Linked DNA regions of Homo sapiens: regions 2, 3, 4, 5, 6 and 7 are each linked to region 1. The links are contacts of gene promoters, found by promoter capture Hi-C in blood cells and fetal thymus (Javierre and others, 2016). All regions are on one chromosome and are shown on one strand. The core of a region is centred on a gene start or on the middle of the fragment in contact, and the rest is flanking DNA. Distances in the headings are between cores, read along the strand shown.

Region 1 (3,949 bases), core at 573-3,072:
AAAGCATTTCACATCAACTTATAGAAAGCATTTCACATCAACTTATCTGTTTAATCTCCTCTATTCAGACTAAGTTAACCTCCTTTGAGGTAGAAACCAGAGTCTTAGGAATTTTTTTAATCCTCAGATTGAACCACTTCACACCCTAGGTACTCCTTAGCCATTGTCTAAAAAAAAAAAAATTCACTAAAAATCCAACCACATGTAATTCTACCTATGCAAATTATTCGAAAGGGTAAAATACCAGAAACTCAGAATGTCATTTGATCAACATTTTATAAAGCTAATTAAATCATAAGACAAAAAAATTTTAAAACCAACCAATAGGCAGGGCGCCGTGGCTCACGCCTGTAATCCAAGCACTTTGGGAAGTGGAGGCGGGCAGATTATTTGAGGTCAGGAGTTCGAGACCAGCCTGACCAACACGGTGAAACCACATCTCTACTAAACTACATAAATTAGCCGGCCATGGTGGCGGGGGCCTGCAACCTCAGCTACTCAGGAGGCTGAGGCAAGAGAATCACTTGAACCCAGGAGGCAAAGATTGCAGTGAGCCAAGATCGCGCCACTGCACTCCAGCCTGGGCGACAGAGCAAGACTCCCTCTCAAAAATAAATAAATAAATACCAACCAACAAACTAAATTTCCCTAGTTTTTCATCGACTCTTCATAAAGCTTCCATTCAAAGAAACAAAATGAGTAGGGAAGTTGTAGCTCAAGGTTCTAATTCTAGAAGCGATGCACCAATGACAGTGACATCATTAAAAAGGCCCCTAATGACTGTTAGAGCCGTCTCTAGAAGTTTTCCTGAATGACTTAAACTGATAAAACTTCACATGGACCAACATTCCCAAACATTTCCCTTTAAAATACACTTCCGAAAAATCACACGCACCATCTATTTCTTAGATCTGTAAAGCTCACTCATTTCACCAACTCCTGAAGACCTCTCTAACACAGACTTTTATGACTCTTCCAAATTCACCAAATTTCTTTCCGGTCCTAACTTCAGGGTTGATTCCCTTTTCTCTTCTACAGGAATCACCCCCACCCCAACAATGAAAGGAGATGAAATAAACCAGGAGTTGCAAAGACCAGCGGAGATAGTTACATAGCAGCCTGGAAAAGAGAAAAAAAAAATAAAGAACAAAAAGAGGCGTCTACGGCACCAGACGGTGTGCTCCTTTGTGCACCTATGTTCAGGTATCCCTTGCGCACCAGTCCCACACTTCGCTGGTACACATACCTACTGATAAAAATTAACTGTAAAAGTCAGAAACTCCCACGGTACCTTTCCTTTGGGCTTCTCAAAAATTTTAAGTGATGAACTGCTCTAGAGCTCCGCCCCTTCTTTCCTTACCCTAAAAGTGCAACTTCTGCTCTAGAGAGAAACTTTCTTTTCCCCGAACACCCGTTTTATCCCATCCCCAGGGGAAACGGGGGGAGGGGTTAAGAAAGAGGTCGCCTGGGGGCGCCCAACTCTGCCCTGCCACCCCTGGGCCACAGCCATGCCGGACTTACCCCCAAACAACATAGTTGGTCTTCACATTCTTGGGCCAGGAGAACTCCCCGAAGATCACTTCGTCTCCCTTCACCACAATCTCCTTCTTCTGGATGTTGTACTGTCGCAGGACGCTAAGCACGTCCGCCATCTTCCCCCCCCTCGCCTCCGCCGGCTCGGGGCGCCGCCGCTGCCGCCGCGCCTGCCTCCTTCTTCTCTTGTCGCCTCGCCCTCTTCCTCCTCCTCCTTCGCCGCCGCGACGAACCAACAGCAGCAGCACTAACAGCCGTCCTCGCCTACGACAGCAGCAGGGGCAGTAGCCACCCAGGCCGCCGAGGACCCCGCGCTGTAAGGCAAGGCCCCGCCGCCGGCTGCCCGCGGAGAACGCCTGACTGCGCCCCTCCAGCGAGGCACATCCGCCGCCAGGGGGAGCCGCGACCGCCTGGAAAAGTGCCCCTCCCAGACTTCAGCTGGGCACGGAGCCCACTCACTCGCTGAAACGCTGAGCGCTGGGGCACCGCGCCCACGTACGGCGCACGTACGGGGAACTTTGCCGGGCGCGCGCGCGCGGAGCACGTACCCAGTACCCCGCGGCGCGCACCAAGCGGCGTCAGGTGCGCGCGTACCTGAGCAGTGGGTCAGCACTTCCATCCCCAGCACGTGCACTGAGTATTTAACGAACTGTCTCGGGTGCGACCAGAGGCTCCCCCGGGTCCCTGCTTTGGCCGGGATGGAATTCGGCAAGGATTTGCGGAACACTAGAATTACCTTCCTATTTAGATCGGACCCAGGCCTAGCCAAAGACCTCTAGGACTTAGTGATCCGGAGAAGCCCTTTTGAAAGAGTGGGGCTCTTGGGGTTGGGGTTGGGGTTTTTTGTTTGCTTTTGATGTGGAAAAGAACGAGTTTTGGTTTTTTGTTGGTTTTGAGTGGAAAAGACCGAGTCCAGAAAAAAAAAAAAACAGTTCTGGGCACTGCTCGTCAAGTTACATAGCTTCTCACAGCATCAATTGGTTAATGAAGAAAATGGGGTTAATACGAAGATAAGGTAAACGCGCCTAGCAAGTCAATAAAATATCCTAAATGTTGGATCCTCCCTCTTCATTCTTTGGATGATGACTTTTTCCATCGCGGTCCCTTCTCCCCGCCAATCCCGAAGGGCTATATTCAAAAGGCTGTGTTCCAAGATGTAAATGGGAAAGTTGCCCTAACAGAAACCCCAAACGGTCCAATTTAGAACACTTCCAGACTACCCAATTTTTTAAATGGTACTCAGAAGTCTCAGTGGTGTCCTTGACATGCGTTTTGAGACGGTTAAGATAAGTTCAATATACTATGGCCAACCAAACACATCCTATGGGATTGTTTTTTTTCTTTTACCATGTCAGAAGGAAAAAAGAGGCAACTTTGTGTTTGACATAACCAAATTCCTTGACCTGTTTTGAAAAAAGTCAATCTTTTCACAACGCAGAGGACTACAGATACAGAAGTGTGTGGTTCATTTCCGATATGATCTGTAGCCATTCTGCAACTGTTAGTTTGTGAAATTTTTTTCTGTTCCACCAATGTTTTCACCCCGTAGTATTCTCCTGAATCTCACCCCAAGCACACACATTATAAAGAAATGGCTACAATTACCTATCCCCACATTCTCTATTCATACCTGTGTCAGAGCACTCAGTACCATATTACTTCCCTTTATAGTTTATTTGCCTGCATCCACAAAACTGAAACACCATAGATCTGTGTCCTCATATCCTACTGTCTAACATTATTTGGTACATATTAGTAATAAATGGATGAATTCAATAAATTGATGGAAGCTCCTAGTAAATATCGAGTTAATACATGGATAGAGGCTTCTAATAAATGTTGAAGTAATGAATGGAAAGATAAGCTCAAGGAAGCCAAGATTTCATGATTAGGAGGCTCGACTATAGTCCCTTCAAACGATACTTAATTTTATTTCATACTCAAATAATGATTAAAGTCTCTCTTTTCAGAGAAATTATGTTTTTTAGGTTAATGAATTTTAAAAAGTGGTAAGATAAGTCATTAGTAAGTTGTTGCTTTTAACAGTTAAAGCATTGAAATTTGTAGATCATTTTTTTCCTGACCAGCCTGGGCAACATACCTAGACCCTGTGTCTACAGAAGCAATTGTAGATCATTTTTGTTTTTATCTAAGTACCCTTATAATTGCCCTACCAATACTGGTTCATTGGAGGATGTCAAAATACAATAAAAGGCAAGATTAGTGGTAGAGCTGAAAAATTAGAAAATTAATTAGAAAAAAACAGAAAAATAGTCTGGTTTCTTTGTCTTGGGCAAAAGCAGTCCACATCTCCAGATATTAGCTCCTGAAGAATTCCTAAAAAATCTTTAGTTTTATGTCTTCTGTTAGAGTAAATGCCCAGCAATCAGAAGAAAGTGGTATGTCTTTTTAGTTG
Region 2 (3,949 bases), core at 959-3,458, 940 kb before region 1:
AGCTTCCTTTGGATTTTTTTTCAAACTGCAAGCTGCTTCTCGCCTTCTCATCTCAAGGTGCTATCTTCTCTCATTCTAATCCTGGGTCTGTAAAATGTCTTCCACTTACCTTTGACTTCTTTCATTTCTTATTGATAAACTGCAGTAGCTAATTAAATCCTAAGAGGTTTTGGGGGTTATTTGGTAGAAATATGAGAAGTAGTATTTTGACAAAGCATATTAAAATATCTACCACACACGAGTCCACGAATCCTAATTAGTGAGGCTCAATCTAAAATTATATTTGCAATTTTTCTAACTAAAGTTATACTTGTATATCTAGACCCATGCTTTCCACTCCAGGGAAATCATGAAATCATGATTTAAATTCCACTTCCATTTTCTCACTTGTTTACTGAGAATAATAGCACCTGAATATTACTTCCCAAGCAACGTGTGAAAAACTGATAAGACAGATCCAAAAAATAAAAATAAAAAGAGTGCAGAGCCAAAAAAAAAAAGAAAAGAGAGAGATATTTTACATTAAAATGAACAAGTTATTGAGAGTGACTGAAATATGAATAATTTAATCTACAAAATCTTTCTATCCACTCAAATAATTTGGATGTAAAGACAGAAGTCACACAGTTACTTTCTTTCAATTTTTTATCCTTTCCTTAGTAACTATAGGGGTTATTTTCTGTTGCCCAAAGAAACACAAGATATGATTTTCATCAGATTTTCTGGGTCAGTATGTATTAGAGGAAAATCCAAGAACCAGGAACAAGATAAGGTGTGTGGTTTCTCATTATGCAACAAGGTTCAGAAAGATCATAGAGGAATTTAGTAGGGCCTGTCAGATATCACATTCATGGAGAGGAACTCTGGCCCTTGAACATGGAAATGTTTGTTTACATTTTATGACTGGGGAAATAGCAACTTCAATCCTAGTGAGAACATGGGCTGGATCCAACAACAGCATGACTTGGCAAGTCACTGAACTTCTCCCTTGTTTCACTATATTATTACTTATCTTCTTTGAGAGCATTAAGCCCTTCTTCCGTAAGTCAGTTTCGCTAAAAGAAGAGCCTGAGACAAGGATTCTTGAGCAAGTGATTTATGGAGTGATTGCTCTCAACTGAATCCAGTACAGGAGCAGGTAATAGGATTGAACTGAGGAAGAAACTAGGCAAAGAAATGGGCTCAGCTGAAGTCTAGCCTGATCGAACAGGGCTTTCTGGAGTATAACTGACACTAGAGAGCTGTCTCAACTTGATGAAAGAGGGGTGACTATTTGTACCCAGTATCTATTAAAAACTGGCTATCAGCTGTCTCTGAGGAAAGGCTTTACTCCTCTGACATGTCTGGGTGAGTAATTTCCTTTAGTCAAGAACAATTATCAGGAACAGAATATAACTATGAGCTGTTAATAGCCAACATCCAAGCAGTGGAAGGCTGGAGGCACTGATCTGGTAAAAGTGATTTGAGTGAGGCAGCAATAGTGTCTTTTATACTTTCCCAATGCCCAATAATAGGGTCCCAGGAGACAGCTCCTTATAGGCCACCCCATCACACCAAGTGTGTTGGTATCCTAATCTGATATGTATGGTACACACTTTTGGGCTTTCCTCATCTCCATCCTTCAGATGGCTCATATTTTTCCTAGCATTCTATCTACCTTATGCACTAAATGGTTAGTTGATTTAAGTAGGATTGGGTACAATATCCTTTTCATCACATTTCTTTCCTAAAATAATAACAATTATAATAATAGTTTTATAAGGAAACCCTAGGTGGTAGATCCACTGATTAACTTGGTTTTATTGAGGTTATTTCCTTAATTAGAGAGTCAGGGATGATGGAGTTCACATGGTTTATGGGGTTTAGTGCCCCTTCTTCATGGTTTCCATTTAACTGAACTGTGTAGCACAACAGAAGCATCAGGCCATCTCAGCCATACCACACCACCACATGTAAACGTTTCCCACTTGTAGACTGATTTCTGGTCCCTTGATTTGTTACCAGCCTTCCATGCTGGACACCAATAAAAATGGCTTGGCCAGTCAGGCACGGTGGCTCACACCTGTAATCCCAGCACTTTGGGAGGCTGAGGCAGGCGGATCATGAGGTCAGGAGTTCGAGACCAGTCTGGCCAACATAGTGAAGCCTTGTCTCTACTAAAAATACAAAAAATTAGCTGGGTGTGGTGGTGTGTGCCACTAATCACTACTATTCGAGAGGCTGAGGCAGGAGAATCACATGAACCCAGGAGGCCGAGGTTGCTGTGAGCCAAGATTGCGCCACTGCACTCCAGGCCAGGTGACAGTGTGAGATTCAGTCTCAAAAAAAAAAAAAAAAAAAAAAAAAAAAGCCTTGGCCATAGTAGCTATTTCAATAACAGAAAGACAATGGCCATATAGAACACATTTTGTTCGCTGAACAGCATTTATTGGAAAAAATGAACAGAAACTGAAAAAGTAAAAGGTGTGTCTTCACACCATCACCCACCTCAATATGGCCCAGTAAACTAGTATTTAGTAGGACTGGGCATAAATTCTAGGAAAGGAACCTGGCCATTGGTAGTGGAGATTTTTTAGTTATATGATTGGAGAAGAGCCTGTTTCTTCTTCTATCTTTATTGGTAGGCTGGGGTTCAAGCCAGGAGACTGCAGCTATCCAACAAAACAGAAACTTGTTATCTGACCCAATTCTACCATTTTAGTAATCAAAGTTCGGAGCACTAGCTGGAGTATAGTCTGTAGGTTGCAGCTTTTGTGATAAATGGAAAGGTGACCTGATTTCTTACCTCATTTTACTATCATTTAGAGTATTTTGGTAAAGCCAATTTTGATAGCATGTTAGAGGAGGCCTAAAGTAACAGGAAATCAGTCCTGAACAAGTTAAGTCTTACTTTCATTTTTATACAGGAAAATTTAGTTATTTTTAAAAACGTAATCTCTCTCTACCTAAGAAGAAACTTAGAATTATAAAATATAGCTGGAAGGACTTTAGCAATCACCTAGTACAATATCCACATAGCAAAATTAAAATAGAATTTTCAGTGGTGATAAAGATATGGATTTTATCAGATTCTAAAGGACTATGTGTCAGTTCATGTCCTCTGAGAAGCAGATGTCAAGATGGGTGATATGATTTGGCTCTGTGTTCTATCCAAATCTCATCTCAAATTGTAACCCCACGTATCAGGGGAGGGGCCTGGTGGGAGGTGATTGGATCATGGGGATAGATTTTCCTTTCGCTGTTCTCATGATAGTGAGTGAGTTCTAATGAGCTCTGATCATTTCTCCATTCTCTCTCTCTCTCTGTTTCTCTCTCCTGTTTCTTCATGGTAAGATATGCCTTCTTCCCCTTCGCCATGATTGTACATTTCCTGAGGCCTCCGAATCATGCTTCCTGTTAAGCCCACAGAACTGTTAGTAAATTAAACCTCATTTCTTTATAAATTACCCAGTCTCAGGTATGTCTTTATAGCAGTGTGAGAGTGAACAAATACAGAAAATTAGTACCATGAAAGTGGGGCACAGTTATAAAGATACCTGAAAATGTGTAATTGAGTTTGGAACTGGGTAACAGGCAGAAGTTGGAACAATTTAGAGGGCTCAGAAGACGACAGAAAGATGTGGGAAAGTTTGGAACTTCCTATGGACTTGTTGAATTGTTGTGACCGAAATGTTAATAGTGGTGATGAATTCCAGGATGATGTGGTCTCAGTTGAAGATGAAAAACTTATTGGAAACTGGAGTAAAGGTTTACTCCAGTACTTGCTACTGGAGTAGGTTTGCTACTGCTATGCTTTAGCAAAGAGCCTGGTGGCATTTTTGCCCTTGACCTAGAGATCTATGGAACTTTGAACTTGAGAGAGATGATTTATGGTGTCTGGTGGAAGACATTTCTAAGCAGTAAAGCGTTCAAGAGATAACCTGGTTATTTCTAAAAGTGTATGCTCACA
Region 3 (3,949 bases), core at 417-2,916, 660 kb after region 1:
CTCTGGGGTAGATGGTTCTTTTGTTAATAAAAGCACGGGGTAGGATTTGATATCATTTTTGCTTGAGAAATGTAAGGCTAAGGATGTAGTTTGGATGGAGTAGCTGGCAAGAAGACAGACAATATAAAGTTAGAGGTATTTGGAGTTACCATGAGTAAATGAGAAGATAGCATTAAAAAGAAAAGTCAAAATAGAGAGGAGGAGCTCCTTAAGAGCATGTCAGAAGGAAAAGACTTACGGACACATCTAGACAATGATGAACATGTCTGTGGCAGAGAAGTGATAACAAATATCTAGAAACAGCGATGACCTCTATTGAATTTGCAGTATTTCCTTCCTATTCAATACTTCCCCATCTGTTGCCATCAAGTTTCCACTGAACATTTTTTTTAAATTTAAAATAGGCTTGTGTTTCTTATAATTTGTGGAATTAAAAAAAAGATGTCGTTTTGGTTATGACCAGATGCAGCTCTGTATGGCAGAAAGCTTGAAAGAACGTGGCTTAAATATGATGGGAAGCTTATTTGTTTCTCACATAAAGAATTCCAGGGAAAAGCAGTCCATAGCAGGTATGGTGACTCCATGGTCAGTCATCAGGAACCCATGCTCCTTCTAGATCTCCACTCTGCCACCCTGAGGGCGAAGCTGTCATCCTTGTGGCTCCCCATGTAGTCACTCCCACAGAACTTCTCATCTGTATTTCAGGGGATAGTACAGAGAAATGGATGAAGAACATATTTTTTCTTTCCTAATGAGGCTTTCTGGAAGTTCCACAGAACACTTTCATTTATGCAGAACTTTACACACATCTTACTGGCCAGTACGTAGAGATAAAGAAAATTGGAAAACATAGACTTTCAGCTGACTGCAATTTGTGAAGGTCAAAATTAGGACTCTATTATTTTGAAAGATAAGTTAAGAATGTGAATTTGAAAGGTGACAATGTGCCTCTGTCACAGAAAGATGAAATCCAGTATGAAGGGACATGGTGGGCCAAATGGGAACTGTGGTTGGGTGAGCTGGACAGCAGCAGGAAACCAAGCTGTGAAGTGAACTGACAGAAAATCAGCCCCACTCCAGCCCTAACCCCTCAACCCCACCCTTGAGAATGTGCAGGAATTTATTGGAGGACAGTGGTACAATTGCTATAGGATGCACAGCAAGGGCTCAAGCCATTCTTCTTGAATATTCTATTTGATCTCAATAAGACTTACCTGTACCCAGGAGGCAGACATATGAATCATGGGCTAGGAAGTCCTCTTGTCCACTTCTTAGACTGTAACAGCTTAGATTTTACTTCACTCTCAGAACTCCTCTTTATACCCACCCATCCCACCTCGGATTTATACTTCTATATTCTGTCATCTGAAACATCTGTTTTGGTAAAAATATCTGATTAGGTACCTTTTAAAGTATTTCTAACAAACATCGTCTCTTTTTTATTAAACAAATATGTGTTATGTGAATTGAGAATTATTGCCAACACCTCGGCCAGTTATATAAGTGTTGATCTGTGAATCAAATTTCTGATTTTTATTGTTGATACCCTATTTTCAGGCTTTGCTTGGGCTATTCTGGATAAATATGAAGGGAGCATCAGGGTTTGTGTTAAGGTCTCTATATGGTTAAGGTTCCCAAAGGAAGGAGAAAAATACGTGCAAAAATTATCATCTCAGGCTCCTAAGCTGTGCTTCCAGAAAACAAAAGAAAAAAACTCTCTCTGAGGAGGAAAAAAGTCAAAAAACCTGTTTTTCAGTTTGGGCCATGACAATAAAAATTGGTGTACGTGGTGGGTTGCCAGTACAATATCGGTGCAAAAGTCCCTTAGGCCTACTTCCGCAAGACTTGTTTTGCAGTTTTGACAAAATGGCGGAAAAAGAGAGGGGTCCATAGATTTTTAATTTTATTACAATGAGATGTGTTTCAACTCTTTTGCAATAAAACGTGAGGGCCAGATTTTTTTTGACTGGCATAAATTGTAAATTAGTGGTACTATAACATTTAAAATTAAATAAATTTATTTATGGATATAATAGAAATCATGGTTAAAGGTAAATTTTGCTCAACAAAATCAGAAATTATCAAAACTTTTGGTTTTAGGAACCCCTTTATGCTCTGAAACTCTACTAAAGACATCAAAACAATTTATGTATTTATATTTACAATAATAGAAATTAATGTTTAAAAAATTTATATTAATTTATTTAAAAACCAATAATAATCCCATTACACACTAGCTTAAATAATATATTTTAATGAAGTGACTATATTTTTCAAATAAAAGTTTAGTGAGAAGAAAAGCAGTGTTTTACATTTTTGCAAATCTCCTTAATATTGGGTCTAATAGAGGACTGCTGGATTATTGTAACTGCTTCTACATCCAATCTTTTTTGATATGTTGCTCTGTTTGAAGTAAATGAAGAAACTCCAGTCTTGCATACATGTATGTAGTTTAAAATGGAGGAATATTTTAATAGCTTTTAAAGATAGCTGTGAATAGTCTTCTTTGGAACTACATCCAAACCTGGCTATAGTAGTTTCTTCAAGGTTAATTGTAATGTAGAATCTAAAACTATCTCAATAAACTTCTCATGACATTAAAATCCACTGGTCTATTGTGTGATGTGAATGTTGATTCTGTAATATGATGCATTGAACACTTAGAGAATATTGTTATGCTGAGTTATACAGGTCTTCCAAATGTTGATGAACTTCATTACACAATATCAAAAATTTCATTCATTAATATCACTACCAAAATTCATCAGGCAACTCTTTAAGTGTTGGAAAGCTGTCAAGCTAATGGAAGCTTTCACTTGAAGCTTAAATTGTGCTATTGGCAATAAATACTGTCAGTTGTTTTCCTTAAGTGACAGGCTCATTTTGTTCATTTTTGAGGAAATGTCTGCCAAATATCCAAGTCTGAATAACCACATTTATCTACAAGTTTTTCTTTTCAGTAAAAATTGTTTCACAAAATAGCAGCTAGTTCAGCTCATAACCTAATTGCACAATTTTTTTTTTTCTCACAACAATCATACTTCAGTATGCAACAGCAGGGCTTTATGTGTACTTTCCATTTTATCACACAGAATGTTGAAAAGATAAGTACTCAAGGGTCCAGATTTAATAACACTAATACTTTTTGCTGTTTCACCAAGGACTTTTTTTAAAATTTATTGTTTTATTTTTATTTTTTGGCAGAGTTTCGCTCTTGTTGCCCAGGCTGGAGTGCAATGGTGAGATCTCGGTTCACTGCAACCTCCACCTCGCGGGTTCAAGCGATTTGCCTACCTCAGCCTCCCGAGTAGCTGGGATTGCAGGTGCCTGCCACCACGCCTGGCTAATTTTTTTGTATTTTTAGCAGAGACAAGGTTTCGCCATATTGGCCAGGCTGGTCTCGAACTCCTGACCTCAGGTGATCTGCCTGCCTTGGCCTCCCAAAGTGCTGGGATTACAGGTATGAGCCACCACGCCCGGCCAAGGACATTCTTAAGTGAAAGTGGATGTATTGGCAGTGAGGAAAATAATAAAGAGATTAATATCAAACCACTATACAGTTGGTACCACTGCATTGATTCATCTTAAAATGTCAGCTGTTGGACTCATCATTGTTTTGCACATTCAGTGTAAATCTCAACACAGTGAAAACAACAAATAATCTTATTGTTAAAATGGCTCTGAGTTTGCTGACCCCCTGAAATTGTCTTGGGGGACTCCCAGGGGTCTGCAGATCACATTTTGAGAACTGCTAAGCTGAAGTGTTCAAAGGATGATTCCCCATAAACAGATACCATTGGATTTTAGTGTTCAGTTCTTTTTTCGAACTCCTTGAAAGTTAATCCAACACAAATTAATTTTTGTGTTCTTAATCGCAATCAAATAAATAGTTTACTGAGCAAACTTATTTTGGTAATTGAAAATGTCTACTAGTGACAGAAATAGTTGA
Region 4 (3,949 bases), core at 512-3,011, 640 kb after region 1:
GAAGAGAAGAGATATGGAAGACTAGAAAAGGCACAGTCTAAGGATATAGAAGGATGATTTTAATCTATATAATATTGAAAAATTACTAAATAATTTAATTTCAGAATGAAGATGCTGGGACTTCAGGTGGAATAATTATAATTTATTATTTTCAACTCAGTTTTTATACTTATGTGTACCAATTATATAACTGATCTGTCCTGCTTCACCAACAACTTCTACAAAACAAGGTTATATTTATCAAGATATGCTGTATAAACACATTAATATCAGACAAAATAGACTATAAGGCAATACATATCACTAGAGATTAAGTAGACTACTTCATAATTACAAGAAGTTTAGTTTAGCAAGTGGCAATATAAATTCTAATTTGGAATGGACAAACTATATGACATATATATGTATAAAAATGAGCAGAACTAGATTGAGAAATAATTAAATACACAGTGATATGGGAAGATTTCAAAGCAGCTTCCCCTAATGGTAATACAAACTTTGAAACTGCAAAATTCATATCCCTCTATCACACATAAACCATCTATAAATTTCAGTGCATTTAAAATAACAGTGTGTTCTCTGACCACAGTAAAAATAAAGTAAACCAGACCACAAAAAAGAAAACCAAACTGGAAACAGCCTGTATACTTGAAAATTAAAAAATGTGTTTATATAAAAACTATGAGAGAAGAAATCACAATGAAAATTAGGAATATCATGAAATACATAATAAAAGTACAACATGTAGAATTTGTGGGACTGTATTAAAGATGAGTTCAAAGAGAAATTTAAATTGAAAATCCTATATGTCTATATTTTACAGGAAAGTCTAAAAATCAATCAACTAAACCTCCATTTCATGGTGTTGAATGTAGGAAAAAAAAGAGCAAATTCAATCCAAAGGCTATAATAGAAACAAAAACAACATGGCAGAAAAAAAGGAGTAGAACAAACACATAAACAAAGGCATCATCAAAGTTGCTAAATTTAAAATATTAATAAAATTGATAAAACCTTTAACAAATATTATGTATAATTATAAATAAGTTCTCCATCTGTTTCAATAAAAAGGCTAGGAGACTACTGTCATTAATTTAATTCTTCATATACTGGAGGATATGTAGCAATGCAGTAGGAAGAAGAAATAAAAATAAAAATATAGCAAAGTAAGAAAATTGATATTATTTGCAGAACAGAGGATCATATATATGGAAAATTCAAGAGATTCTACACATAGTTAATATCAATTAATAAAAGAATTTAGCAAGTTAGATAACTTCAGCCATGTACAGAAATTGTATTTATATGTAACAGTAACAGAGTTAGAAATTAAAATTAGGATATTATTTAAAATAGTATAAAAATATTTACACACCTAACTCTAAATATGTTCAAGAACTCTGCATAGAAAAGTGTAAAATATCATTTAAAAGAATTAAAATAAGACTCAAATAAACAAAGAAACAGAAGGACGTACTACATTCATAGGTTGTAAGACCCAATATTGTAAAGAGGGCAGTTCTATGAAAATCATTTATTACCATTCAATCAAGATTCCAACATGTTCTTACTGTTTTGGGAATATTGCTCGTTAGGTTGTGTCCATATATGTGCATGTGTGTGTGTGTAAATAAAAAGTCTTCATTTCAAAGTCTGGAATCAATTATTTTACAAGTTTCAAACATTTTTCTAGCATCTTGAAAGTTTGTCGGCCCAAAGCACTGTGCCTACAACAACTAATAGGTAAAATGACCCATTTGGAGTTTGGGTCTTTGTATTCCCAGATTCATGATCCTCTTACTATGCTACCTTCTCTCTCTGTTCTAATGAATATATATCATTTAATTATCTTGTTAATTTTAAAAATTAATGTATGTGTTGTTGAATGATTTTACTTTAAAATTTACATAAGTATGAGGTAGAAAATTGTGCTTACTAATTTTATATAACAATGAAGTTAAAATAAACTTATAAACTTTTAACTGATATTTGTGTCCTTACATAGTAAGTATCTTTGTTCTTCTATTTTCATGTTTGAAAAATAACGGTTTCTACCCATATTCAGAAAGCTCATTAAGAATTTACTGCTTTAGCTGGTACTGATTATTCACTGTATTTGTCTGCCCTCTAGTGATTGCAGAATAAAGTCTAAGGAAAAATTACCAGAGGTAAGAGTCAGTCGATTAGTTTTGCAGAAACTCTCATTATTTAAGTTTAACCTGGCTTCTTGTATAACACATTTCTAAATCATTTAGAAATCTACTACATGTCAATAACATAGACATTGGCATACAACAGTTTGATGCTGTTATAGTGTTATACTATGTGTGGATTAAGCTAAACGACTAATAAAATAATTTATATGTTGAAAAAATGAAAATGAATAAAAGGAATATATAATTATACACAAAATTTACTGGGCACCTACTCTCTGTGCTAAGCTCTTTTCATACATTATGTTATTTTATCTGTACAGCAGTTCCTTAAGAAGTCCCTGTTTTATAGATAAGAAAATTCAGGCTTAGTGCGGTTAAGCAACTTGATTAAGGTCAAATACCAGATAATAATAATAATATTAATAGCTATATTTATCAAGCATTTTTTAGTGCCACAGAAAGGTGCTCTGTTAAGCACTTTGTATGTCTATATTAGTCATTGCTCAGAATAGGAAACAAACCACTCTAGAGACTGAAAACAGAAGTGGGTTAATACTGCAAGTGAGATCCTGACAATCAGTGGGAGGGCCAGAGAAGTCGGTTTTTGAGTGGATATTGTGGGATGACTGCCAAAACAATGTGCAACTGACTCATTAGGAGTGCCCGCTCTGAGGTCATTACTGCAGTGATGTCACAAATCTCAAAACACTGAAAAGTCTGAAATACGCATGCAAACTCCGTTGCACAGAAACCTGTTCCTACCACGTTGCTAGCCAGCAGGAACAGCCAAGCGTTCGCGTCCAACTTCTCCCTCTGGTTGGCAGACACAATTCACACCCAGAGCCCTTGCTGCCAAGGAGTCTGCTAAATGTAGCGTTTATCTCCTCAGCTCCTATGTACAAAAAAGGAACATGGAAACGGGTGGGGTTGGCTGCTGGGAGCCAGTCAACCACACCCAGCATAACGCGTTATCCAATTTAGTCCTCATAGAGATTCATAGGATTGTTTCTCCATTTCATAGAGGAAGAAATAGATGCACCGGCAAGTTAAATAATCTGCTAAATAAACAGGATAGGAACCTATGTCTCTCTTATTCCAAAGTGCAGCACATCTCACTATCTCAATATGACACTATGTTATCATTAATTCATTAATTCTATGTTAGTGTTGAACATCTCTCCCTCAACCCCAACCAACACGCACACACACATTTTTTTTTTTCACATGCTTCTTATCAGGATACAACCTAGATTCCAAGAAAAGTGAATTGAAGGTGCTGCTCTCCAGTTGTCTCCTGAGTGAGCTGTCCTCCTAGGCTTGGGATAAAAATATGCAGAATCAATGTACAGCCCTCCTGCATCTCATATTCTTGCGGGAATAATAAATATATTCTCTAATACATGTGATTTGGCCTGAAAAAGGGAGCTAATGGCATTGCTGGCACTGGAATGTGACTGTAGCCAGCATACTTGGAGAAATCAAGGTGTGTGATCTCCTCAGAGCAGAGAAACATCATGTAGTGGTAAGGAAAGATGCCAAAACAGTAGATGCTATTCTTGTCTGTGCAGCTTGACTCACATAGCACCCCTCCCAACAGGCACATGCCACTGGCCCTCCATGACACCTGCTCACCAGACACTGTCCTTCCACTTCAGAAGGATACCGGATCCTCATCAGGCCGTCTGACTTCTTACCTTGGGAATGAGAACCTTGACAGAGGAAGCCTCAGAACTGAAGGTAGTCAGATAGAAAAATTTAGATGGCAGTCCTTGGGGCAGTCATATGCTTTAAGG
Region 5 (3,949 bases), core at 457-2,956, 630 kb after region 1:
ATATGCTCATTTTTACTAATACCTCCTTTATGAAGAAGATTCATTTTTGTATGAATACATTTTTCCATTATTTTTTGCAAAAGCTTGATAGTTTAAGCTTTTATGATTAGGTCTGTGATTCATCTTAATATACAATGTCTGGTCAAGTATTTGCTCATTTAAAAAAGTTTTAGATTTAGAGGAGTTCTTTGTGTATTCTGGGTATACATCTTTTGCTAGTCATATGTGTTGCTGTTTTTGCCTTGCCTATTTATTTTCTACATGGTAACTTTTGATGAACAAAAACTTTTATGAAGTGTATATTTATGAAATACATATATTTTTTCTTTGGTGCTTTTCATATCCTGTTTAAGAAATTTTTGCCAAAGTATATTAGTTTTATAGAGGTGCTGTAACAAAGCACTGTGAACTGGCTGGCTTACCAAAACAAAACTATTCTCTTATAGTTCTGCAGGCTACAAGTCTGAAATCCAGGAGTTTTCAGGGTTAGTTTATTTTGGAAGTTCTGAGGGAGAATCCATTTCATGTGCTTCTTGTAACGTTAGTGGTTATTGGGAATCATTGGCATTCCATTGTAATTTCTGCCTCTGTCTTCATAAGACATTCTCCCCTGTGTGTGTCTGTGTCCGTTCTCTTCATCTTATAAGGATCCCAATCATATTGGATTAGGGCCTGCCATACTCTAGTATGACCTCATTTTAACTTAACTAATTATATCTGAAAAGACTCTATTTCCGTCTAAGGTAATATTTATAAATATTTGGGGTTAGGACTTGAACATGTCCTTTTCAGAGATACATTTTAACTCACAAACTTAAGGTTACAAAAATATTTTTTTTCATTTTTCATAAAAGCTTGATAGTTCCAGCCCTTATGAATAGGTCTATGATTCATCTTAATATACAAACATTTGTACTGAATGTGATTGTGATAGAAATCAAAGTTTAATATTTTTCAAATATTTGTCCAGTAGCTGGAGGACTATTTGTTCTTATGCCCATATTAATCTGTCATGATCACAGTACCTTTGTATTAAGAACTATTTGTTCTTATGCCAATATTAAACTTTGTTCTTATGCCAATATTAAACTGTCATGATCACAGTACCTTTTTATTAAGTTTTGAAATGGAGTAGTATAAGTCCCCAACTTTATTCTTGTGTTTTAAGATCAATCAGACTAGTCTAGATCCTTTGCACTTCATATAAATTTTATAATCACTTTCATAATTTCTTCTAAAAAGCATACAGAGATTTTGATTGGGATTGTGTTGAACAGGTTAATTAGGGTAGAAAAAATGTATTAACAATAAGACATTTTCTATGTTACATATATAAAATATCTATTTATTTAGGTCTTTATTTTTTCTCAGCTAGGTATTATTTTCAGTATAGAGATCTTTTCTATTCTTGTTAGATTTATTAATAGATATTTGATTTTTTATTTTATTATAAACAGTATTTTATTACATTTTATTATAAACAGTACTACTATCTATAATAGCATGGAAAAAATCAAATATCTACCAATAAATCTAACACAAAATATGAAAGATCTCTACACAGAAATAATACTGTTTACTGCCAATATATGTCTATTTCCTCCTTTTTTTACTGCTATTGAAAACTTGTATTTTCTGTCTTTTTCATGGTCAATCTTGAGAGAGATCAATCAATTTTATCAATGTTTTCAAAGAACCACTTTTTGACTCTAATTATTGTTAGTTTTCTATTTAATTGGTCTGATTTAATTTTTATTATTTCCTTTCTTCTACTTTGGTTTTAATAGGGTCTTTTTTCCTAGCTTATTTAGATGAAAGGTTAAATAATTGATTTAAAATTTTTAAAAAATTCTGATATCCATTTAAAGCTAAACATTTCTCCTAAGTACGTTTTTAGCTGAATCCCATAAATTTCAACATATTATATTTTTTATTATCAGGTCTAAAATATTTTCTAATTTCTGCATGATTTATTTATAATCTCTGTTATAGGATTGTTGTTTCATTTTTAAATATTTGGAGGCTTTTTTAGACTTACTGTTACTGATTTATAGTTTAATTCCATTGTGCTCAAAAAAACATTCTATAAGTCTTAAGTTTTTAGGATTTCCTGAAATGTATTTTATAGTATTTCACATGGTCTCTCTTGATGAAAGTTCCATGTGCACTTGAAAAGAAAGTGTTTTATAAATGTCAGTTAAATCAAGTTAGTTGAGAGTATGGTTTAGACTGTCTATGTTGATACTTAGTTTTAAAACTCTACTTGTTCTTTTATGCACAAAAAGATTTTATAATCCCCAACTATAGTTGTTGGTCTATTATTACCTCTATTTCCATGATTTTTGTTTCACGTATTTTGAATTCTGTCATTAGATCCATATGCATTTATGATTGTTAAATCTTCATGATGCATAGTCCCTTTTATCATTACCAAATATCTCTTTTAATATCTATCTCCTTCCTTGCTTGCATTTCTTATCTGATATTAATATAGCCACACCGAATTTCATGTGCTCACCCTTTGCTTAGCACATATATATTTTTTCCTTTAAGCTTTCACTTTTTATATTTTTATTTAAGCTACAAGACTGGGTGTGGTGGTCGATGCCTGTAATCCCAAACTTTGGGAGGCCAAGATGGGAGGATCACTTGAGACCAGGAGTTTGAGACCTGGTGGGATCTTGGCTCGCTGCAACCTCTGGCCCCCAGGTTCCAGTGATTCTCCTGCTTCAGGTTCCCTAGTAGCTGGGATTACAGGCATGCACCACCATGCCTGGCTATTTTTTAAAATATTAGTAGAGATGGGGTTTCACCACATTGGCCAGGCTCGTCTCAAATGCCTGATTTCAAGTGATCCACCCACCTCAGCCCCCCAAAGTGCTGGGATTATAGGCATGAGCCACCGAGCCTGGCCTCCATACTATTTTCTATAGAGGTTGAACTAATTTATATTCCCACCAACAGTATATAAGCATTCCCTTATCCCCGCATCTACACCATCTTTTGTTTTTTGACTTTTTAATAGAAGCCATTCTGACTGATGTAAGATGATATTTTAATGTGTTTTTAATTTGCATTTCTCGGGTGATTAGTGATATTGAGCATTTTTTCATGAGTTTGTTGGCCATTTGTATTTTTTCTTTTGCGAAATGTCTGTTCATGTCCCTTGCCCAGTTTTTAATGGGGTGGTTTCCTTTTTTCTTGAGTTATTTCAGTTCCTTGTGAATTCTGGATATTAGTCCTTTGCCAGGGACATAATTTGCAAATATTTTCCCCCGCTCTATAGGTAGTCTATTTATTTTGTTGGTTATTTCTTTTGCTATCCAGAAGCTTTTTAGTTTAGTTAAGTCCCATGTATCTATTTTTGTTTTTCTTGCATTTGTTTTTGGGGTCTTTGTCATAAATTCTTTGCATAGGCTAATGCCCTGAAGAGATTTTCCTAAAATTCTAATATTTCTTAAACTTAATTACCTCATAAACTCTTAACTCAATCTTTTGATTTGGTATTATATGTAGAGTAACATTAAAGATGTAAATAATTATTAGAAACTTATTTTGGAACATTTTAAATGTGTACTAAAGTTGACAATATAATGAATTCCTATCTACCCATCACCCAGCTCAACAATTATCAACATTTTCCCATTCTTATTTGTCTATACCCTATCTTATATATGAGTTTTCTCTAGATTATTATAAACCACATAACAGATATTGCATAATTTCACATATAAATATTACAATATACATCTTTAATAGATAATTATAAAAAAGGCTTAGCTTAGCAGTATTTCATCACGAATAACAACATTTTACAAATAATGTCACATCATCCAATAAGTGGCCCAATGTTCTATTTTCTTCTTTTATCTAAAAACATGTCTTTTTACAGTTTTTTGAATCAAGATCCAAACACAGACCACATATTGTATTTAGTTAATATGTCTCT
Region 6 (3,949 bases), core at 930-3,429, 610 kb after region 1:
TATAGGAGATATTTCACAATCACTGACTGGAATCTTCCTAGCATAGTATATGTATCAGCAGAAATCACTATAACAAAGAGAATCTAATGTAAATCTTGGCATACTGGTTACTAAATGTAGTTTTATAAAGGGCAATCTAATAAATGTCTTTGGTTTCCAAGGTGCTAACAACAGATTGGAATAATAAACCCTTCTGTTCTCGGAAACCAGAAATGTCTTTAGGAATCCTGGCAAAGGAAAAAAAAAATCTCTGTAATCTGATCAAGCCCAAACATTTGCAAAAGAAAATTAACTTACATAACACTGGCCCAGATCTTATTATTTAGAACCATTTTTGAGATCATGAGGCATATATTTTGCTTTACACTCATAAACATGTAGCCAAAGTGAATTAATTATGAATAATTTAAAAATGATCAAAGTTTGTTGGTTAATAATGATGAATCAACTTGAGTTGATGGTGGGTTCTGGGATGAAATGAAAGGGAAAGGACCAGGTAGAGATGAGGAGTACTTTGACTGATTTGATTACACACTCAATGGTGTGTAATCCTACTTCCATACTGAGAAGGCCTGTGCCGGCCCAAAGAGCCAAGCTTCCTGCCTACCAGTGGAAGTCAGGAAAGCAGTGGTATGCTGAAGAGCAGCCAACAGCTTACCTTATAGTACAAGCATCCTGTGTAGGGTAAATTAAAAAACAAGAGATGTCTTGTTTGTTTTTTTTTGTTTTGTTTTGTTTTTGCCTGGTTCTATTTTATTTTTGGTCCAAATCACACTAAGAAGGAGTCTTAAGATTTTGAAGGGATAAACATCAGGAAAATTGATTCTTTTCTGTAACTTTAAATTATTTAAAGTTAGACAGCATCTTTCTGACAATACTTTATTTATGTATCTGTATCAACGCTTAGGGAGAAATGAATGTGGTTTTATTTTTGTATTTCATTTAACTTGAAACTAAAATGAAGCTAGCTATTTTCTCCCTCCTGCCCTTCCTTCCTTCTTTCCTTCTTTCCTTCTTTCCTTCTTTCCTTCCTTCCTTCCTTCCTTCCTTCCTTCCTTCCTTCCTTCCTTCCTTCCTTCCCACTGAAGCCCCATCATTAATGCAAATCCACCCTCTCCTCTCCCCTACTTCTCTACATCCACACAGCTGTCTTTTCCCTGCTTTGAAAATATGTACATTAGCTGAACTAGAGAGCTAAGGTATTTCACTATTCAAAGAAGAGTATTTCTTACATATATCCATATCACAAGGCTTTTAAACTATTTTTGACTCCTATAATTTCTATAACTCTTTACAAGTCTGATGTAGACACCAATTGGAGAACTTGAGAATTAAGTTTAATGTAAAGGATATCAAAGAGATAAAAGATAATAGAATTTCAACAGTGAAGTGTCAGATTCATTCTTGTGTGACAGTGTGTGATTGCTGTCATTTCTGCCACCCACAAGTATTATAAGTGAGATAGAGAAAAAAGGGCAGTCCCTTCTCAAGTTTAGATAAGGAAGTTGATCCTGACCTAAGACAGCACATTGATGAATGCTGTTTACAGTGAATGCTAATGGCTTTTTGTGGACTAACCATTAGGAAGTACAGTTGTTCCCCTTATCTCCTCCATTCTTGTTATTCAAACAAAGCATAAATTGAGAAAGTAGGAATGTAAAAGGTGGAAGATTAATGTTCTTTACTTTGCAAAAGACAAGATTTTACTTAAAGTACTAGGTTACAGATGAGTAATGTGGGATAAGGGAGAAGCCCTGACAGGACTAAGGGGCTATTGAACTCCCTCTGTGGCAAATGACCTCCAGGCCAGCAGTGCTTCCTCTGAGTACTATGATCATTCTTCTGTAGCTTCGGAAATGAGGAAAGCCCCAGCTGTGGGAAGTGGTTTCTCTTCCTTTTCCCTGTGGGTGGTTCTGGGGTGGGATCAGCTGGAAATCCAGGGTTAGAGTCACTTGAGCTGTGCACTTCCCCAAATGTGTATTTCCTCCATGTATAACACCATGGATGGGGTGGAGGAGAAGTTATTTCCTACGTTAGTTCTAGGGTTTAAGAAAGAGGTTCAGAAATAATATTCACAAATTAGAGATGGAGGAAGGGAACACAGATCTGTTGAGTACTTCATTTGTGCCAAATACTATGCTATTATTATAGTGTCTTATTTATTTATCAGATAAGAAATCTGAGAAATGAGATAAGGAAACTGAGGCATGGAGAGTTTATGAAACATGTCTGAGATTGCACAGCAGAATTGGATTTTGAACTAATACCTATTAGTTCCTCAGGCTTGAGCTCTCTCCACGTCATTACTCTGAACAACAGGAGGCAGAAAAAGCTGAAAAACAAAGCCATTATAGATGATCATCTGTCTGGGTTAAAAGATTAGGCAACAAACAAATAAATCTTGTTTATATTGTTTCACTTTGTATAATAGTTTTCTTAGAAACAAGGAGCAAGGCCTTCTCAATCAGGCTGCTTCTGTCTTTTGCTTTTTGGATTCATTCATAAAGAGTATCTAGGAATATTAAAAAAGTTCTGGAATAATACAGCTATTCTAGGCATAGTTTTGCTACCTAAGGCTGTGAGGTGACTTCCAGTGTGGAAAAATGCCTGAGGCGATTTTACACACACACACACACACACACACACACGTGCACACACACACAAATTATATATAAATTATTTAGTAACCCATAGTCTGGTCCAGGAACCACACTTGGAATATCACTGGCCAAGAAATTCAGCAGGACAATGGAAGAATCTAGACCAATTCTAAACATTTTATTTTTTGATATTCAGTCTTTAATAGATACAGGGATAAGGCTAGAATTTATTCTTTTTCTTTGATAATTTTTAAGTTTCAGTTAAATTCAGTTCAACACAGGGAGTATTTCCGTGCATCTTCTTTGTTCCAAACATAGCGCCACACACTCAGTGAAATTTAATCTTAATGCCTTGAAAGAAATAGATGCTAAAGGCTCTTATATTTTTCTAAACTGTAACTTTAAAACAAATCAGCAAACACATCTTAATCATAATATAAAAGGAAGAAAACATTAAATATAATCTAATACAACTTTATTTATGGATGAAGAAACTTCTCAAATAAATAACCTGCCCAAATTCACACAACTAATTGTGGACATGGCATGGATTGTAATTCAATATTTTTAGTAAACAACTCAGAACCAAATTCTCTCCTGGATTTTGAAAAAAAAACTCTGGGAAATATGCTGACATGTACCTTTCAATCCCTACTTTTACTAGTTCTTATTACCTCATATATAAATGATCATGTTTCTTTCTTGCTATTCTACTTGCCAGATCTCTACTGCCCCCAGCTCATCTTGTACCTGGGAGCCAGATAATCTTAAATTAATTTTTCTTGGCTGTGTGCCGTGGCTCATGCCTGTAATCCCAGCACTTTGGGAGGCTGAGGCGGGTGGATCACAAGGTCAGGAATTTGAGACCAGCCTGGCCAATATGGTGAAACCCTGTCTCTACTTAAAATACAAAAAAATTAGCCAGGCGTGGTGGCACATGCCTGTAATCCCAGCTACTCAGGAGGCTGAGGCAGGAGAATTGCTTGAACCCGGAGGTGGAGGTTGCAGTCAGCTGAAATGACGCCATTGCACTCTGGCCTGGGCAACAGAGCAAGACTCCGTCTCAAAATAATAATAATAATAATAAATAATAATAATAATAATTTTTCTCCTTCCATGTTCATCTTAGATTCCCAGGCTCTCCTGGATACAATGAAAGCTTTTTTGGCTAGCTCTGGAGGACTTCTAAAATCTGTTTATACTTTTCAGTCTCCACTATTTCTTTTATTGTTCCCCAAAATGAACCTTCTGCTCCAGACCTGCGATTCTCATGCACACACAAAACATTTGAATTCCTAACCTTCACTCACATGGATTCACCCACTGAGAATGTCTTATTTCCCCCTCCA
Region 7 (3,949 bases), core at 857-3,356, 580 kb after region 1:
TGGGAGGCTGAGACAGGAGGATCACATGAAGCCAGGAGTTCAAGACCAACCTGCTCAATGTAGCAAGACCCTACTTCTAAAACAATTTTTTAAAAATTAGCTGGGCATGGTGGCATGCGCCTATAATCCTAGCTACTTGGGAAGCTGAGGCGGGAGGATTGCTTGGGCCCAGGAGTTCCAGGTTACAGCGAACCCTATGCCACCGCACTGCAGTAGCCTGGACAAATAGAGTGAGACCCTATCACAAGAAAAATAAAAAATAAAGAATAAAAAAAAGTTTGGTGAGCTAAAGGAATAGCAAAATGTTCAATACAGTTCTATTATAAGGATAAGTCGCTCCAATTCTAGAAAATAGTGGAATATAAGAACTTACCTCTAAGTATAAGGCCGTGACCCCTGAAAGAACAATAATAGCTAAATAAATTGCTACTTTGTCTTTCTCCAACATTGCTTTATTGTTTGCTATAGGAATTAGATCTAGGCCAATGAGAGTCAATATCTGCTTTCTTGATAAACATTTTCCCTCTAAGCTTCCAACTCCGTATTTATTTATTAAGCTTAAAGTAACACAGAATGTCTTCATTATTATGCAAATAAATATTTCATTTTTGGATTTATTTAACAAATATCATGTGCCAGTTTTGTCCTGGGAATAGTACTTAGTACATAAGAAAAGCTGATGACTGTGTCTATGACAAGGAATCTTTAGTGAGGAAACAGACATGTAGACAACTTCAATATAAATCAGATAACTGGTTTGAAGGAGTAATGTACAGAATGCTATAGGAACTCAGAAAACAGCTTTCCTATGTCACCTAGAGACAGCAGGGGCCTCATGGAGGAAGCAGCATTTAAGCTGAGAAGCAAAGCCTGAGTAGGAATATTCTAGACAGTTTAATATGTGAGAGTGGAAGGATATTCTAGGAAAAGGAAATAACATTTCATATAACAACTGTTCTCAGTGAGGAGAACATGGGAACGAGATTAGACAGGAACATAGGACCAGTTGGCCACTGACCTCAAAGGGATTTGCAGGTATGAGATCTGTGTGGTAGAAACTACAAGTACTGCAAGAAGTCGGAGAAGGGAGGTTTCTTGAGGTACAGAGATGCCAGCTCTGTGCAGGGAGTAGAATTTGACTAGGACTTGTACTTGGAAAGACTGAAGGGAACATTGCTCCAGGTTTGGTGAGCAATGTGGACCACTGTCCAGAGGTTGTATCAGTGTGGTCCCCCTGTTGGAAAGTGAAATGTATAAACCTGTTTTTAGCAGAGGCACATTTTTGAGATGGTAAAATTAAAGCTGGACATGTTACTGGGACATGTTATCAAAAGCTAAAAATTCTGGGGGTCACTTAAGGCAGTAAGACAGAAAAGTGTAGCAGAAAATGCTGTAGCTGGGAGTCAGTGGATTCAAGAACTGGTGGGGTCTATCGTTGGTTCTGTAATGTTGGAAATATCACCCAGTCCTCAAGCTTCTGGAGCTATAATATATAAAATGAGGATTGTTAAACCTCATACTCTGTAAGGCCACTCCACTTCTAAGTTGCCATATGTGTTTAATAAATAGGGACCTGTTGAAATTTTTAGCGGGTTTTATTGTGCTGTTGTTATTTGGCCTTAAGAAGGAAGTATTAAGTTTAGGGAACTGGGATTTAGATTCAAGGGTTTTGAGTTCAAGTTTTGTTTCTGTCTCTTGCTACCTTCATGACATTGATTAAGAAAGTCATTTAGTCTTCTTGAGACCATTTTCTTATCTGTGAAGCTGGGATGATGTTTGCTTTGCTTAAAACATAGGTTGAGGATCAAATGTGATGAATATATAAAATATTGTGTGTTCTATAAGGTGCTACAGGAAATATTTTAAAAGACATAAAGTGGTAGACTATTATGGTAATCTTATGCGAGGAGATATAATTTGGAGATAAGTAGTACCTATGAGAATAGAGAGCTACAAACGTATAAGACATTTTGAATGAAATATAGATAGAAAATAGATAGTGACTTATCTTACAGGTTGATGAAAATGAGAGATGGAGAGAGTGAAGATGGCAACAGTGACTAAGGAGTGTCGACCACATTTATTTAAAATCTCTGTGCTGGTCACTGTAGAAATTCTATTTTAATGTGAATGGATAGTGTAATAAAGTAAGTTTTTGTGGTCTGGTTCAAAAGTAGGCCAAAATGAAAATTTTACTTGCAAATTTCAAGAAGCAAATGGAAAGAGAACCAGGCCTTAGAATATATTTGCGTTTCTGTATTGCCCACTAATATTTTTGTATAACACATTTTAAGTAATAAAAATCTGATAATTTATTTGTCCACCCTGGAAAGGAAAAAAAGATAAGCTATAAAGCAGTCTAATTTTATCAAACCATTTTTGGATACCTTATAAGTAAAGTCAGAAAACTAGAAGTGAAAAGGGAATGCTTCTAGAAACTGTAGTGAGGTCTGCATCAAATCCTAAGACATGTTTTTGCTCCAGGTTTCCTGCAATTGCTACCATAAAGGGAGCATTTCAGACCCAGTGCTCTGTAATGTGGTTTCTTTCCTCTGGAATTCCTCCAATCCTTCATGAATAGCTGGAGGAATGCAGACCTCTGGAGGCTGTATTTTACAGGTTGCTATGGAACTGTCTAAATATTATGAACAGTGCAGTGGTATATGACATACGACAGCCCAATGCCATGAAATTAGGGCAGCTAGAAATCATTTCCATACCCTTGAAATGTAAGCTTCTAGTTTAAAAGAATGGCATGAATGTTTTTCATAAATAAATTATCCTTTATCACACTAAGTTAGATCCTGGGTGGAGATAGGAAGTCTGGGACTTCAAAAGAGCTTTAGTTCAGAGAGAGGCCTGTAGACCCTAAGAAGCAAATACACAAGCAGGCCAGGGGAGGCCTAGTGAGGGGAAGGAGGAATATAAAACTTCGTAGTTTTCAGGATATAGATTGTAATGTTGATGTTACAAAGAGAACTGCTTTAAAAATCTCACTCCAAAGGTGTGCTTGGAGGTAAACAAGCTAACATAACTTCGGGATCAGGCAAGTCACTTAGAGCAAAAACGGGGCTTCCTCTTTCAACACCCTTTTTTTTGTGCTGTGAGACCCCCAAACTCTCAGCTACTCAGGGTTTGATGCTTGACTTTTTCTCAGATTCCAATAATTGTTTATGAAACCTGATTCAAATTTTAAGTCAGAAGTTACCCACCATAAAACATACCTCCCCCTCCTCCCTGGTTCTACTTAAGTTTCATTTAAATAAGAAATATAGCTCTCTGGGTACAATTTTTTGAATAACAGTTCTGTGAATGCTATTTGCTTCTGCAGGTTATGCCAAAGGCAGTTTCCTCTCTGAATGAATGTTTTTAATGTGCAAATTCAAAATACAACGAGCCTACGTCATAAGCTGCACTAAGTGAACAGAAACTAAGTGCAGCTGGGCTTTGTGGCTTTTCTTGTTTTCTTTCCTTTTTTCTCCCCTTCTTCAGACAGTTGCTATTGAATAGTTTTTTTTTTTTTTAATGAAAGAGGGTAAAACATTTCTCACAAATCCTTTTGCCTGCACCAAGAAATTCAAATTAAGCAATTGAAAATGTAAAAGGAACAAATAAGTTTTGCTTTGCAAGATGTAGGGGAGCCCATCTGTCTTGAGTATCTGGTTCAGTTTCATTAAGAGTTGCAAGTATCCACTTCATGTTGCCTCTCTATTTTCTTATCTACCCTGCCTGGGAGGAGAGGACAATCGCCTTCCCATTTTTCTTTTTTGGTTTCTTATTTAAGTAGCATAAAATATATTTTAAAAATACATTTTTGTTTATGTAAGGTTTTTTAGATATGCCACCACCTGAATATCCCTGTGTAGAAAAAAAGGATAAACTCCCACTAACAGTGGAAAAACATCCCTATTTCTCCACATCCTCTCCAGCACCTGTTGTTTACTGACTT

Evidence for each region. The method cuts DNA at HindIII sites, captures the fragments that hold promoters and counts their contacts. A CHiCAGO score of 5 or more calls a contact.
Region 2: a fragment that was not itself captured here is called in contact with the fragment with the promoter of CDC73 in region 1 in 1 of 17 cell types (total CD4 T cells); the score reaches 5.0 in total CD4 T cells.
Region 3: a contact is called between a fragment that was not itself captured here and the fragment with the promoter of CDC73 in region 1, in 3 of 17 cell types (total B cells, neutrophils and naive B cells). The highest score is 6.5, in total B cells.
Region 4: a contact is called between a fragment that was not itself captured here and the fragment with the promoter of CDC73 in region 1, in 10 of 17 cell types (neutrophils, monocytes, M2 macrophages and 7 more). The highest score is 17.9, in neutrophils.
Region 5: a contact is called between a fragment that was not itself captured here and the fragment with the promoter of CDC73 in region 1, in 2 of 17 cell types (M2 macrophages and neutrophils). The highest score is 5.4, in M2 macrophages.
Region 6: a contact is called between a fragment that was not itself captured here and the fragment with the promoter of CDC73 in region 1, in 2 of 17 cell types (total B cells and monocytes). The highest score is 5.5, in total B cells.
Region 7: a fragment that was not itself captured here is called in contact with the fragment with the promoter of CDC73 in region 1 in 3 of 17 cell types (monocytes, total B cells and neutrophils); the score reaches 6.5 in monocytes.

What each region holds. Positions count from the first base shown.
Region 1 is chr1:193,119,904-193,123,852 of GRCh38, reverse strand. It overlaps CDC73 (cell division cycle 73), which reads right to left and starts at 1,822. Exons shown (of 17, transcript NM_024529.5): 1 at 1,522-1,822. The coding sequence starts at 1,652. RefSeq lists enhancers at 1,385-1,434, 1,034-1,678, 1,705-1,774, 1,679-2,325 and a silencer at 1,935-2,014. The HindIII fragment of the contact is 13,310 bases long and covers 678-3,949 here.
Region 2 is chr1:194,060,096-194,064,044 of GRCh38, reverse strand. All of the region lies in intron 5 of LOC124904475 (a long non-coding RNA gene), which reads right to left. Among named protein-coding and RNA genes, the nearest start is that of LINC01031, 760 kb to the right of the region's middle. The HindIII fragment of the contact is 4,408 bases long and covers 5-3,949 here.
Region 3 is chr1:192,458,560-192,462,508 of GRCh38, reverse strand. No RefSeq gene overlaps it. Among named protein-coding and RNA genes, the nearest start is that of RGS1, 120 kb to the left of the region's middle. The HindIII fragment of the contact is 2,290 bases long and covers 522-2,811 here.
Region 4 is chr1:192,475,983-192,479,931 of GRCh38, reverse strand. No RefSeq gene overlaps it. Among named protein-coding and RNA genes, the nearest start is that of RGS1, 98 kb to the left of the region's middle. The HindIII fragment of the contact is 4,574 bases long and covers 1-3,949 here.
Region 5 is chr1:192,493,591-192,497,539 of GRCh38, reverse strand. No RefSeq gene overlaps it. Among named protein-coding and RNA genes, the nearest start is that of RGS1, 80 kb to the left of the region's middle. The HindIII fragment of the contact is 1,699 bases long and covers 857-2,555 here.
Region 6 is chr1:192,510,546-192,514,494 of GRCh38, reverse strand. It overlaps LOC105371664 (a long non-coding RNA gene), which reads left to right. Exons shown (of 5, transcript XR_002958418.2): 5 at 1-1,382. Among named protein-coding and RNA genes, the nearest start is that of RGS1, 63 kb to the left of the region's middle. The HindIII fragment of the contact is 3,164 bases long and covers 598-3,761 here.
Region 7 is chr1:192,538,580-192,542,528 of GRCh38, reverse strand. All of the region lies in intron 4 of LOC105371664 (a long non-coding RNA gene), which reads left to right. Among named protein-coding and RNA genes, the nearest start is that of RGS1, 35 kb to the left of the region's middle. The HindIII fragment of the contact is 1,260 bases long and covers 1,477-2,736 here.